Linked DNA regions of Homo sapiens: region 2 is linked to region 1. Evidence: promoter capture Hi-C in human tissues and cell types (Jung and others, 2019). All regions are on one chromosome and are shown on one strand. Each heading gives the region's core, a stretch centred on a gene start or on the middle of the fragment in contact. The rest is flanking DNA. Distances are from core to core; before and after follow the strand shown.

Region 1 (5,321 bases), core at 1,787-4,286:
GAGGTGGGAGGATCACTTGAGACCAGGAGTTCAAGATCCGCTCTGGCAACATAGTGAGACCCCGTCTCTACAAAAATGAAAAAATTAGCTGGGCATGGTGGCACCTGCCTGTAGCCCCAGCTACTTAGGAGGCTGAGTGAGGTAGGAGGATCGCTTGAGCCTGGGAGGTTGAGGCTGCAGTGAGCCGTGGTCACACCACAGCCTGAGTGACAGAGCAAGACCCTGTCTCAAAAAAAAAAAAAAAAAAAAAAAGAAGAGGAGAGACCTGAGACCTGGAGGGTCCAGATCCCATTTTCTGTCATCCTGGAGCCCAACCACATGCCCTGCCCTTTCTGTGTTTTGGTTCCAGAGCCAGGGCCCCAAGTTTAGCAGGGTCCTGGGCTTGGTTTAATGCTCTGTTGTTGCTGTCTTGACATTCTTATTCATTTTTGAAAAAGGGACCCTGAATTTTCATGTTGCACTGGACTCCACAAATTACACAATCTTACCGTTAGCCATTAACAGGTATTTTTGGTGTAAGATTCTAGTAGGGTAATCTAAAAGAGTACACAGGAGTGCAACTCAGACACACACACACACACACACACACACGAGACTAGAGGAGTTCCTCGTCCCCCATAAACCCAGATACTCAGCCCCTTCTCCCAGGCCCCAGGAGCCCCAAACTCATACCCAGTGCCTGGCTCAGCCCCTCTTCCCAGCCGTGACACTTACACAGCATCTTGGTCACTTGTCTCCGGCCCCGATCGTGCTGCTGGAGCCTGCAGGTGTATCTGGACCTGGCTGCTGCAGAGCCCCTGCCCTTGGCCTCCTGCATGAGCAGCAGCCTCTCCCGCCGCAGTCGCAGCCCAATGAGCAGGTAGAGCACGCTCATGATGGCCATGGGCAGGCAGAAGAAGAGCAGCGCGGTGGTCTGCACTACCATGTTGTAGAGGGCCCGTGGGCGGACCAGCATGCAAACAGCTGAGTCTGGCACTGGGCCCCGGCAGGGCACGTGCAGCTGCCGGATGCCGTGCAGGCTGGTGTTGGGCAGGGAGCAGAGCATGGCAAGACCCCAGACGGCCCCAAGCACTCGGCGCACATGGGCCCGCGTCACCATGGACCTGGCCTGGAGTGGGTGCACCACGGCCACATAGCGTTCCACGCTCAGGGCAGTGACGTTGAGCACTGAGGCCAGGCAGACCATCTCAAACAGTAGCGTGCGGAAATAGCAGCCACCAACGCCCAGCAGGAAGGGGTAGTTGTGCCACATCTCATAGAGCTCCAGGGGCAGGCCCACCAGCAGCACCAGCAGGTCCGACACGGCCAGGCTGAAGAGGTAGTAGTTGGTAGGCGTGCGCATGGCCTTGTGGCGCAGGATGACCAGACAGGTCAGCCCATTGCCCACAGCGCCCACCACGAAGATCAGCAGGTATGTGGCACAGATGGGCATGAACAGCTCTGTCTGCTGGGGCCCCAGGTACTTGAGTCTCAGTGCCTCGTCAGTCAGGTTCAAGTCCTCAGGGTCAAAGTGCCCCCTGGCCGCACTGCCATTGCAAGCCATGGGGTTCCTTGCACCCCCTGGGTACAGGTCTCCAGGGAGGACAGAGCAATTGAGGCAGAGAGGAGTCTGTGGAACAGAGGGGAGAGATGCCCAGAAAGATCATTCAGGGAATGCTGGCTCTGTCCTCACTCATCAAGCCAAAGGTGACATTAGCGCTATGATGACCATTATTTTAGGCACCACTGAGAAAGAAAAAACTCTTCCATCCACAAGTCAGAGATGTAAAAATAAGCTTGGTGCAGTGGCTCACACCTGTAATCCCAACACTTTGGTCGAGGCAGGCGGATCACTTGAGATCAGGAGTTCAAGACCAGCCTGGCCAATATGGTGAAACCCCGTCTCTACTAACAATACAAAAAGTAGCCGGGCGTGGTAGCACACGCCTGTAATTCCAGCTACTTGGGAGGCTGAGGCGGGAGAATTGTTTGAACCCAGGAGACAGAGGTTGCAGTGAGCGGAGATTGTGCCACCGGACTCCAGCCTGGGCAACAGAGAAAGACCTTGTCTCAAAAAAACAAAAAGCAAACAACGAAAAAGTAAAAATCTACATTTAAAAAAAAAAAAACACGTGGGGTTTTGATTTTAAATTTCATGATCTATTGGAACCTTTGAGTAAATGACAGATCTTGGGTGTCTCCTCTTTCAAGCAATGATGCTAGATGAGGCACTCGTTTGGGCATCTGTAAAATGGGCACAATGCCTGGTATTGCAGGGTCTTCAAGAGCAAGCGCTCAGGAAGCAACTGCCTGGATTCGAATCCAGCCTCCCCAGTTCCAGGCTGTGTGACCTTTAGCGAGGTAACCTCTCTGAGGCTGTTTCCCTATTAGGAGGATCCAGGGAGTTTAATCCATTAAAGACATTAACACAGGGCCTGCCTGGCATACGGAAGGGCACGGGGATCACCCCCTTGCTCTGGGGACCCAGTCACTATGAGAGTCAAGTGAGGGAGTGTCAAGGCTACACACTACAAATGCTTCATCCACAAGTTGATTCTTTTTTCTGTTTTCTGTCACCTGAACTGTTCAGTCTCCATATTTGACGCCCTTGGCACTGCCAGTTCTGGGGTTCCCTCTCCTCTATTGAGCCCCACACCCTTCCTCCCGCCCGCCCTCACCCCCGCTGCACAGCAGCGCGGGAGCCTCGGGAACCAGTTGGGAACGCGCAGGCGCCAGCCCGGGTTCAAGGGAGGCGCCCTGGTCCTCGAGGAAGGGTCGCAAGCCCGCAGCCCCCCGGCGCCCCTGGCCGGAAGACACAAATGACCCGAGAAGTTGCGAGGCTCCCCGGTGGCGGGGACGGGGGGCACCCCGACGGAGCCCTCGGACCCTTCCCGCCCTAGGACGACCCTGCCCGCACCGAGCCCCGGCCCAGCTGCCGCGCCCTAGCCCACGCCGGCGCCTGCGCACCTACCATGCGGCCCGCGGCCCGCGAGACCCCGGCTTCCACCCTCCGAGCGACGGACACAGACGCGGCGCGGGAGCCAGTGGACTGACTGACAGCGGCCCCAGCCCGCGCCCCGACGCCCCGCCTGTCCGGCCGGGAACGCCGCCAGGGGGCAGTGCAGTCCCCGCAGCCCGGGCGGCGCCCCCTCCCGCACTGGCGGAGGACGCGGCCGTTGGAGGCGACACCTCCACAAGCAGCGTGGAGGCGACACCTCCACAAGCAGCGTTATCTGACGGAACCCTCACAACAACCCGTTTTACAGATGAGAAAACTGAGCCTCAGAGAGCCGCAGAGGAGGAGCCCGAGAGACCTGGGGCTCACATGTGATTCCCGCCCTCCAGCGTGCTGAGTTTAGCTTAACGCCGTCACGGTGTCCCTGCGGCCTCCAGCTCCTCCTGCCCCCCATTCAGACCCACCTCCAAGGACAGGGACGGCCCACCAGCCCCTTGAAGTCGACATGCCCCGGTGCGGTTCATCCTCCCAGGCTCCAGGCCTCTTCTTCTGTCCCAAGGCCCATGATTGCAGCCTCCGCAGCCCCTCTCACCCGCTGCTCCCTTCGGGGCCTCCAGTCCCTGAGTCCAGGCGCTCGGCCCTGCAGGACTGGGCAAGAGCCCCCTATTCTCCCTCCAGTCCATCCTCCCACAGCCACCAACGACCATCACCCCCTCGAAACCCTTCCTTGGGGCCCCCCCACTGCCTTCTGAAAAAGAGCACACCAAAGTCTAGCCTGGGGGTGGACCTCCCCACTCCTCACCTGCCTCCCTGGGCCACCCTCTCCTCACCATTGTCCTCAGCCCCAAATACTGTCCCCCTTATCCGTTCAAATGTTCTTCTGCCCCCATCACTGTACCAAGGGTGGGGGTATAGACAAGGATGGAGGGAATTTAGGGAAGGGTTAAGAATGCCCAGCCACAGCCTCCTGCTCCCCCACACTGCCCACATGCAAATCCCAGTGCCTCACCTGCTCCCACTCCCTAGTCCTGCAATCAGCTCCTTAGCTGGAAGCTGTTTCATCAGAAACTTCTAGGGACCCTAGAAATGACGGATCACACAGAGTAAAATGCTGGTTCCGGGGCCTTTGCCCAGAGTTTTGTCTCCTTAGCCTGGGCAAGGCCCAGAAATCCTCATGTTTGACAAACGCCCTCTGGAGAGCCCCATGCCCCAGAATCACACTGAGGAGCACCAGGAGAGGTTACAAAGCCACAGGACCCCGAGAGGCCACCGTGAGCTCAGAAGCTCTGTGTGCCTCAGTTCCCCTTCCTGTAGAATGGGCTAACCACCATCGCCACTATTGTGAAGGTGACATGAGACACTGAGCGTCAAGATTCAGCACAGGGGCTGGCACATGGCCAACACTCAAGAAATGTGGGGTGGGATTGTCACCATTTAGTGGCAACTGGAGGCTCCTCCTTCCCCCCGCTTTCCTGCACCCTCCTCCTCCCCACTGCCCCCCAATTCCATAAGTCACTGTCTGGGCTTGGGGATGGGAGTTAGGCCCTCAAGGAGCCTGCACCAGGCCGGCCTTCCCAGGAACTCCACATGTAAACAGAGTCCCAGGCAGGGGACGGTTGTGGGAAGTGCAGGGGCACGTGGTCCTCAGGGCCTTGGGAGAAAGGATTCTGTGGTGCCCTGGGAATTAACTACTCAGCCCCTGATGAGCTAGTCCAGGAGAAATCCTCAGTAACAGGGCTGCCAGCACAACAGACGGGCAAGGAGGGATGACATCACTCAGCATCAGAGACCACTGTGGCATCACAGGCTGCTCTTAGCAAGTGAGGAGCATTTGGACCCCAGCCCTTCACTGGAACACACACACACACGCACATGCATGTACACACACATACACACACATGCATGCACACATCACTCTGCACATACCACACCACACACACGCGCACACACATACCACTCTGCACAGACTCTGAGCAGTCCGAAAGTCCCCGTGGACCCTTTGGTTCACACAGCCCTGGAGGGGATGGGGAAGGACCCACCTAGCCTTGCAGAGGCAGAATGACTCTTGCCAGTCAGGAATTCCTACAGCGGGTTGCATCATTCACATAACATTAGCAGCCATCAAAGGCTAAAGAGCAGCCCCCAAAAAGGAGAGGCTCAGTGGCCACAATGGCTGTGGCCCTCACTTCCGCACTGTGCAGAGGGCCCTAGGGGCCCTGGCCTCCGGGCCTGAGCTCAAGGCCACCACGGTAGTGTCCCATCAGAAACGTATGACATCCTGCTGCTCCTGCTCCGTCCTGAGGTGGCACCCCCCAGTTTTCTGGGTGTACACATCCATCTAAGCTTGGCTGGTGGGCGTCTGCCCAGATGAGGGGGCCAAGGACCC
Region 2 (5,600 bases), core at 1,603-4,102, 56 kb after region 1:
CCCGGCCCTGTTTTCTGATTTTGTTAACAATAATCAGAACTTCTTCCGGACATTTTGCTCTATTTCCTGCCAGGCTTTCCCCCAATAAACAGCCTTTCTTGCACATGTCTGTCATTATCATTTAGTGGAGTTTATGTTTCCAGCCCAGCATCCAGTTCACAGTTCACCTTCTTTTGGTAACAGCACCCCAGTTTTCCTCCTGGGAATGATTCCACTACCTTCCACAGGCCTTATGTTAGGGTGGGGCCGCACCCCCCCCGCAACCACATCAGGAGTGGTTGCATGACCCAGGCCTGAGCAATCAGGATGCTGTAGTAATTGCTTCTGAGACACGCCAGGAGCCCACGATCCTGTCCCGAGATTTGCCGAAACCGCAGGGGACCAGCATCTCTTTGAACTGGCCTGAGCTGTTAGGAAGGATGCCTGGAGCGCTAGCAGCCTCCGCATGGAGGAAATCCCCCTGAAAATCTAGCCATCAATGACAAAGGGAGCAAAGAGAAGAGAAAGAACCGAATCCCTGACAGCGTCATGAGCACCTGCTGTGTAGACCCTTTCCTCCAGGCTTTACAGGTTCCTGTGAGCCAAGAAATTTCTTGATTTTTGTTATTTTTGCAGAAGTCAATTTGATTTGGGTTTCTATAGCTTCCAGCTGAAAGAGTATGGGCAAATAAATACACATAGTGTGCATAAAATATTGCATCCTGCTTTTTAAAATATTTTATTTTTTGAGACAGGTTCTCACCCTGTTTCCCAGGCTAGAGTGCATTGGTGCTATCCTAGCTCTCTGCAGCCTCAACCTCCCAGGTCAAGTGATCCTCCTGCCTCAGCCTTCTGAGTAGCTGGGACTATGGGTGCATGCCACCACACCTGGTCCTAATTTTTTTATTTTCGTATTTTAATTTTATTTATTTATCTATTTATTTATTGACGCAGTAATAAATGTTACCCAGGCTAGAGTGCAGTAGCATGATCTCAGTTCACTGCAACCTCTACCTCCCAGGCTGAAGTGATCCTCCCTCCCACCTCAGCCTCCAGAGGAGCTGGGACCGCAGGTGCACACCACCACGTCCGGCTAATTTTGTTGTTGTTGGAGAGATGGGGTTTCTTCATGTTACCCAGGCTGGTCTCCTTCCACCCACCTTGGCCTCCCACATGCTGGGATTGCAGGCATGAACCACCATATCTAGCCTTATTTTTTGAGATGGGGTCACACTCTGTTGCCTAGGCTGGAGTGCAGTGGTGCAATTACAGCTCACTGTAGCCTCGAACACCCGGACTCAAATAATCCTCCCGCCTTGGCCTCCCAAAGTGCTGGGACTACAAGTGTGAGCCACCACGCCCAACCTCCTGCTTTTTAAAGTAACATTATATAACAATCTTTTTCCATGTTTCTGTACAGGCTTTATACAGCTTCATAATATTCCATAAACTGAGTTTACCCTAAAATAAGAGTATTTAATTATTTAATTCGAGAGTCATTCTCCCCAAGAGAAAGGAGTTGAGGGCCAGGCACGGTGGCTCATGCTTGTAAATCCCAGCACTTTGGGAGGCTGAGGCAGGCGGATCACTTGAGGTCAAGAGTTCGAGACCAGCCTGGCCAACATGGCAAAACCCCATGTCAACTAAAAATACAAAAATTAGCCGGGCATGGTGGCAGGTACCCGTAATCCCAGCTACTTGGGAGGCTGAGGCAGGAGAGTTGCCTGAACCCAGGAGGCAGAGGTTGCAGTGAGCCAAGATCACTCACGCCACCGCACTCCAGCCCGCAACCTGGGGGACAAGAGTAAGACTTCATCTCAAAAAAAAAAAAAATTAGCCAGGTGTGGTGGCAAATGCCTGTAGTCCCAGCTACTTGGGAGGCTGAGGCATGAGAATCGCTTGAACCTGGGAGGCAGAGGTTGCAGTGAGCCGAGATCATGCCACTGCACTCCAGCCTGGGTGACAGAGTGAGACTCCATCTCAAAAAAAAAAAAAAAAAAAAAAAAAAAAAGAGAGAGAGAGAGAAAGGAATTGAAAAGAAAGCAAAGGCAAATTATTTGAGACGAATTTCCTCTTATGAGAACTACTTAATAAAGGTAGAGAACTCTTTTTACAAGATGATGCCAAAGGCAAAGAAGGAAGCTCTTGCCCCTCCTAAAGCTGAAGCCAAAGCAAAGGCTTTGAAGGCCAAGAAGGCAGAGCTGAAAGGTATCCACAGCCACAAAAAAAAGATCTGCACGTCACCCACCTTCCAGCGGCCCAAGACACTGCGACTCTGGAGGCGGCCCAGATATTCCCAGAAGAGCATCCCTGGGAGAAATAAGCTTGGCCACTGTGTTATCATCAAGTTTCCGCTGACCACTGAGTTGGCCACGAAGAAGACAGACGACAACAACACACTGTGTTCATTGTGGATGTTAAAGCCAACAAGCACCAGATCAAACAGGCTGTGAAGAAGCTCTATGACATCGACGTGGCAGTGGTCAACACCCTGAATAGGCCTGATGGAGAGAAGAAGGCATATGTTCAACTGGCTGCTGATTATGATGCTTTGGATGTTGCCAACAAAAATGAGATCATGTGGTTGGGCACGGTGGCTCACACCTATAATCCCAGCACTTCGGGAGGCCGAGGAGAGTGGATCACCTGAGGTCAGGAGTTTGAGACCAGCCTGGCCGACATGGCAAAACCCTGTCTCTATTAAAAATACAAGAAAATAAGCCAGGTGTGGTGGTGCGCTCCTGTAGTCCCAGCTACTCAGGAGGCTAAAACAGAAGAATCACTTGAACCCAGGAGGCAGAGGTTTCAGTGAGCTGAGATCACATCACTGCACTCCAGCCTGGGCCATAGAGCAAGACTCTGTCTCAAAAAAAACAAAAAAAAAGCCAGGCGCGGTGGCTCACGCCTGTAATCCCAGCACTTTGGGAGGCTGAGGCGGGCGGATCACCTGAGGTCAAAAGTTTGAGAACAGCCTGACCAACATGGAGAAACCCCATCTCCACTAAAAATACAAAATTAGCTGGACGTGGTGGCGCATGCCTGTAATCCCAGCTACTCGGGAGGCTGAGGCAGAAGAATCACTTGAACTCGGGAGGAGGAGGTTACGGTGAGCCAAGATCGCGCCATTGCACTCCAGTCTGAGCAACAAGAGTGAAACTCTATCTCAAAAAAAAAAAAAGGGATCATCTAAACTGAGTCCAGCTGGCTAATTCTAAATATATATATATCTTTTCACCAGAAAAAAAAAAATAAAAGTAGGAAAGTTTTTAACTAAGATGGAGAAAACTTTCATATATATTTTATTTTGTATTTTATTTATGTACAGAATATATCTAAAATATATATTGTCCACATAACAGAATAAATATATTTTGTTCTATACTGATCTCATTTAATATTTATTTACAAATAAATAATCCTTTATTTTTTGTTCCCCAATTTTAATAAATCTCTCTGCCTTTGACATCAGTGCCTATTCATTCCACTGTAGCCTTCCTTGGGCACGATTTTCAAGCATATGAAACTTTTTTTTTTTTTGAGATGAAGTTTCACTCTTGTTGCCCAGGCTGGAGTGCAATGGTGCAACCTCGGCTCACCACAACCTCCGCCTTCCAGGTTCAAGCAATTCTCCTGCCTCAGTCTCCTGAGTAGCTGGAATGACAGGTGCACCACCAAGCCCAGCTAATTTTGTATTTTTAGTAAAATGGGGTTTATCCACGTTGGTCAGGCTGGTCTCAAACTCCTGATCTCAGGTGATCCACCCGCCTCGGCCTCCCAAAGTGCTAGGATTACAGGCGTGAGCCACCATGCCTGGCCCAAGCATATGAAATGTAACAAGGGTCAACATAAAGTGCAACATGTAGAATCAAAAGCTGAATTCCAAATACAGAGTTTGTCCTTGGTGCCTATAAGGTGCATGATGGTTTTAGTGGGCCACATGAGGGGACATCAGAAACTTTCTATTCTCAACACACACACACAAAGTAAGAAAGAAAGAAAATGGCCAGGTGCGGTGGCTCATGCTTGTAATCCCAGCATTTTGGGAGGCCAAGGCAGGCAGATTGCTTGAGCCCAGAAGTTCAAGACCATCCTGGGCAACATAGTGAGACTCCATCTCTACAAAATATTTAAAAATCAGCCAGCCATGGTGCACACACCTGTAGTCCCAACTACTCAGAGGCTGAGGTGGGAGGATCCCTTGAGCCCAGGAGGTCAAGGCTGCAGTGAGCTATGATTGTACCACTGTACTCCAGCCTGGGCAACATAGTGAGACCCTGTTGAAAGAAAACAAGAAAAAAGAGAGAAGGGGGAAGAGGAAAGAAAGAGAAAGAAAAGAGAAGAGAAGAGGAGGGAAAAGGAGGGAAGGGAAAGGAAGGGAAGGGAAAGGAAGGGAAGGGAAGGGAAGGGAAAGAAAAAAGAAAAGAAAGAGGGAGGGAGGAAGGAAGGAGGGTGGGGGAAGGAGGGAGGGAGGGAGGGAGATGGAAACTATACGAGGTGAGGGATATGTTAATTAGCTTGATTGTAGTGATTATTTCACAGTCTAATGTACAACAAAACATTAAGTCAGCCAGGCACAGTGGCTCACGTCTGTAATCCTAGCACTTTGGGAGGCAGAGGCAGGTGGATCACGGGTCAGGAGTTCAAGACCAGCCTGGCCAAGATGGTGAAACCCCGTCTCTACTAAAAATACAAAAATTAGCCAGGCTCGGTGACAGGCGCCTGTAATCCCGGCTACTTGGAAGGCTGAGGCAGGAGAATCGCTTGAACCCGGGGGCCGGAGGTTGCAGTGAACTGAGATCGTGCCACTGCACTCCAGCCTGGGTGACAGAGTGAGATTCCATCTCAAAAAAAAAAAAAAATTAAGTCATATATAGGTTTTTATTTCCTGGGTAAAGATAGGGAGCGGGGAGAACTTTCTAACTAAAAGCAGGGAGCTGTGTGGGGTGTGGGGCTTTGGAGTCAGGCAGATGCCACTGACCTTGCTATGTGCTTGGCTTCTCTAAGCCTCAGTTTCCTCATCTGAAAAATGGGGAAATAACCCCTGCCCAGCGTCAGGCCTACTGACACTCAGTGCCATATGCTACTCTTGATTGTTTAGGACTGGAAGATATTCAAGCAAACACGGACCAACCACTTGACAGGGATCTCATAACTGTTAGAATTGGATTAGGATTACGTTTAGCTGCATGTAATAGAAAACCAAAAATAATCATTTGGGCACATATAGTGTTATTTTCCCTCACATAAAGGAATTTGAGAGGTTGGCGATAGTCTGGTCTGGTGGCTGCCGGACAGCTCCAATCATGGGACCCAGGGTCCTTCCATCCTTGCTTGGTCCACCCTCTTACTGTGTGCCTTCCACCCTCAAGATTACCTAGAGGGTTGCTAGACCAGTCCTCTTGCTGGACCAAGAGGGTTGCTGTTGCTCCAGCCTTCACATTCCTGATAGGGGGAAGAGCAAAAAGATGTTAAACTCTTTGAAGGATCCTTTCTGAAGTTCGACTCAATACTTTCTGCTTACTTCTCAATGGCCAGAACATGGTCACATGTTCTTACCTACCTGCAAAGGAGGCTGGGAAATGTGTTCTTTTAGCTAAGACACAGAGGCCCTGAATAAAATC

Evidence for each region. The method cuts DNA at HindIII sites, captures the fragments that hold promoters and counts their contacts. A contact is called where the count stands out against the background at its distance.
Region 2: a contact is called between a fragment that was not itself captured here and the fragment with the promoter of NMUR1 in region 1, in 7 of the 25 tissues and cell types used here (bladder, lymphoblastoid cells, mesenchymal stem cells and 4 more).

Annotation. Positions count from the first base shown.
Region 1 is chr2:231,527,409-231,532,729 of GRCh38, forward strand. It overlaps NMUR1 (neuromedin U receptor 1), which reads right to left and starts at 3,037. Exons shown (of 3, transcript NM_006056.5): 1 at 2,951-3,037; 2 at 715-1,609. The coding sequence starts at 2,953. LOC105376787 (a long non-coding RNA gene) reads left to right here and starts at 4,762. Exons shown (of 4, transcript XR_001739928.2): 1 at 4,762-5,321. RefSeq lists enhancers at 445-972, 973-1,499, 3,989-4,723 and a silencer at 2,865-3,294. The HindIII fragment of the contact is 18,375 bases long and covers 1-5,321 here.
Region 2 is chr2:231,583,768-231,589,367 of GRCh38, forward strand. It overlaps the pseudogene RPL23AP26. Among named protein-coding and RNA genes, the nearest start is that of TEX44, 6.3 kb to the right of the region's middle. The HindIII fragment of the contact is 4,173 bases long and covers 767-4,939 here.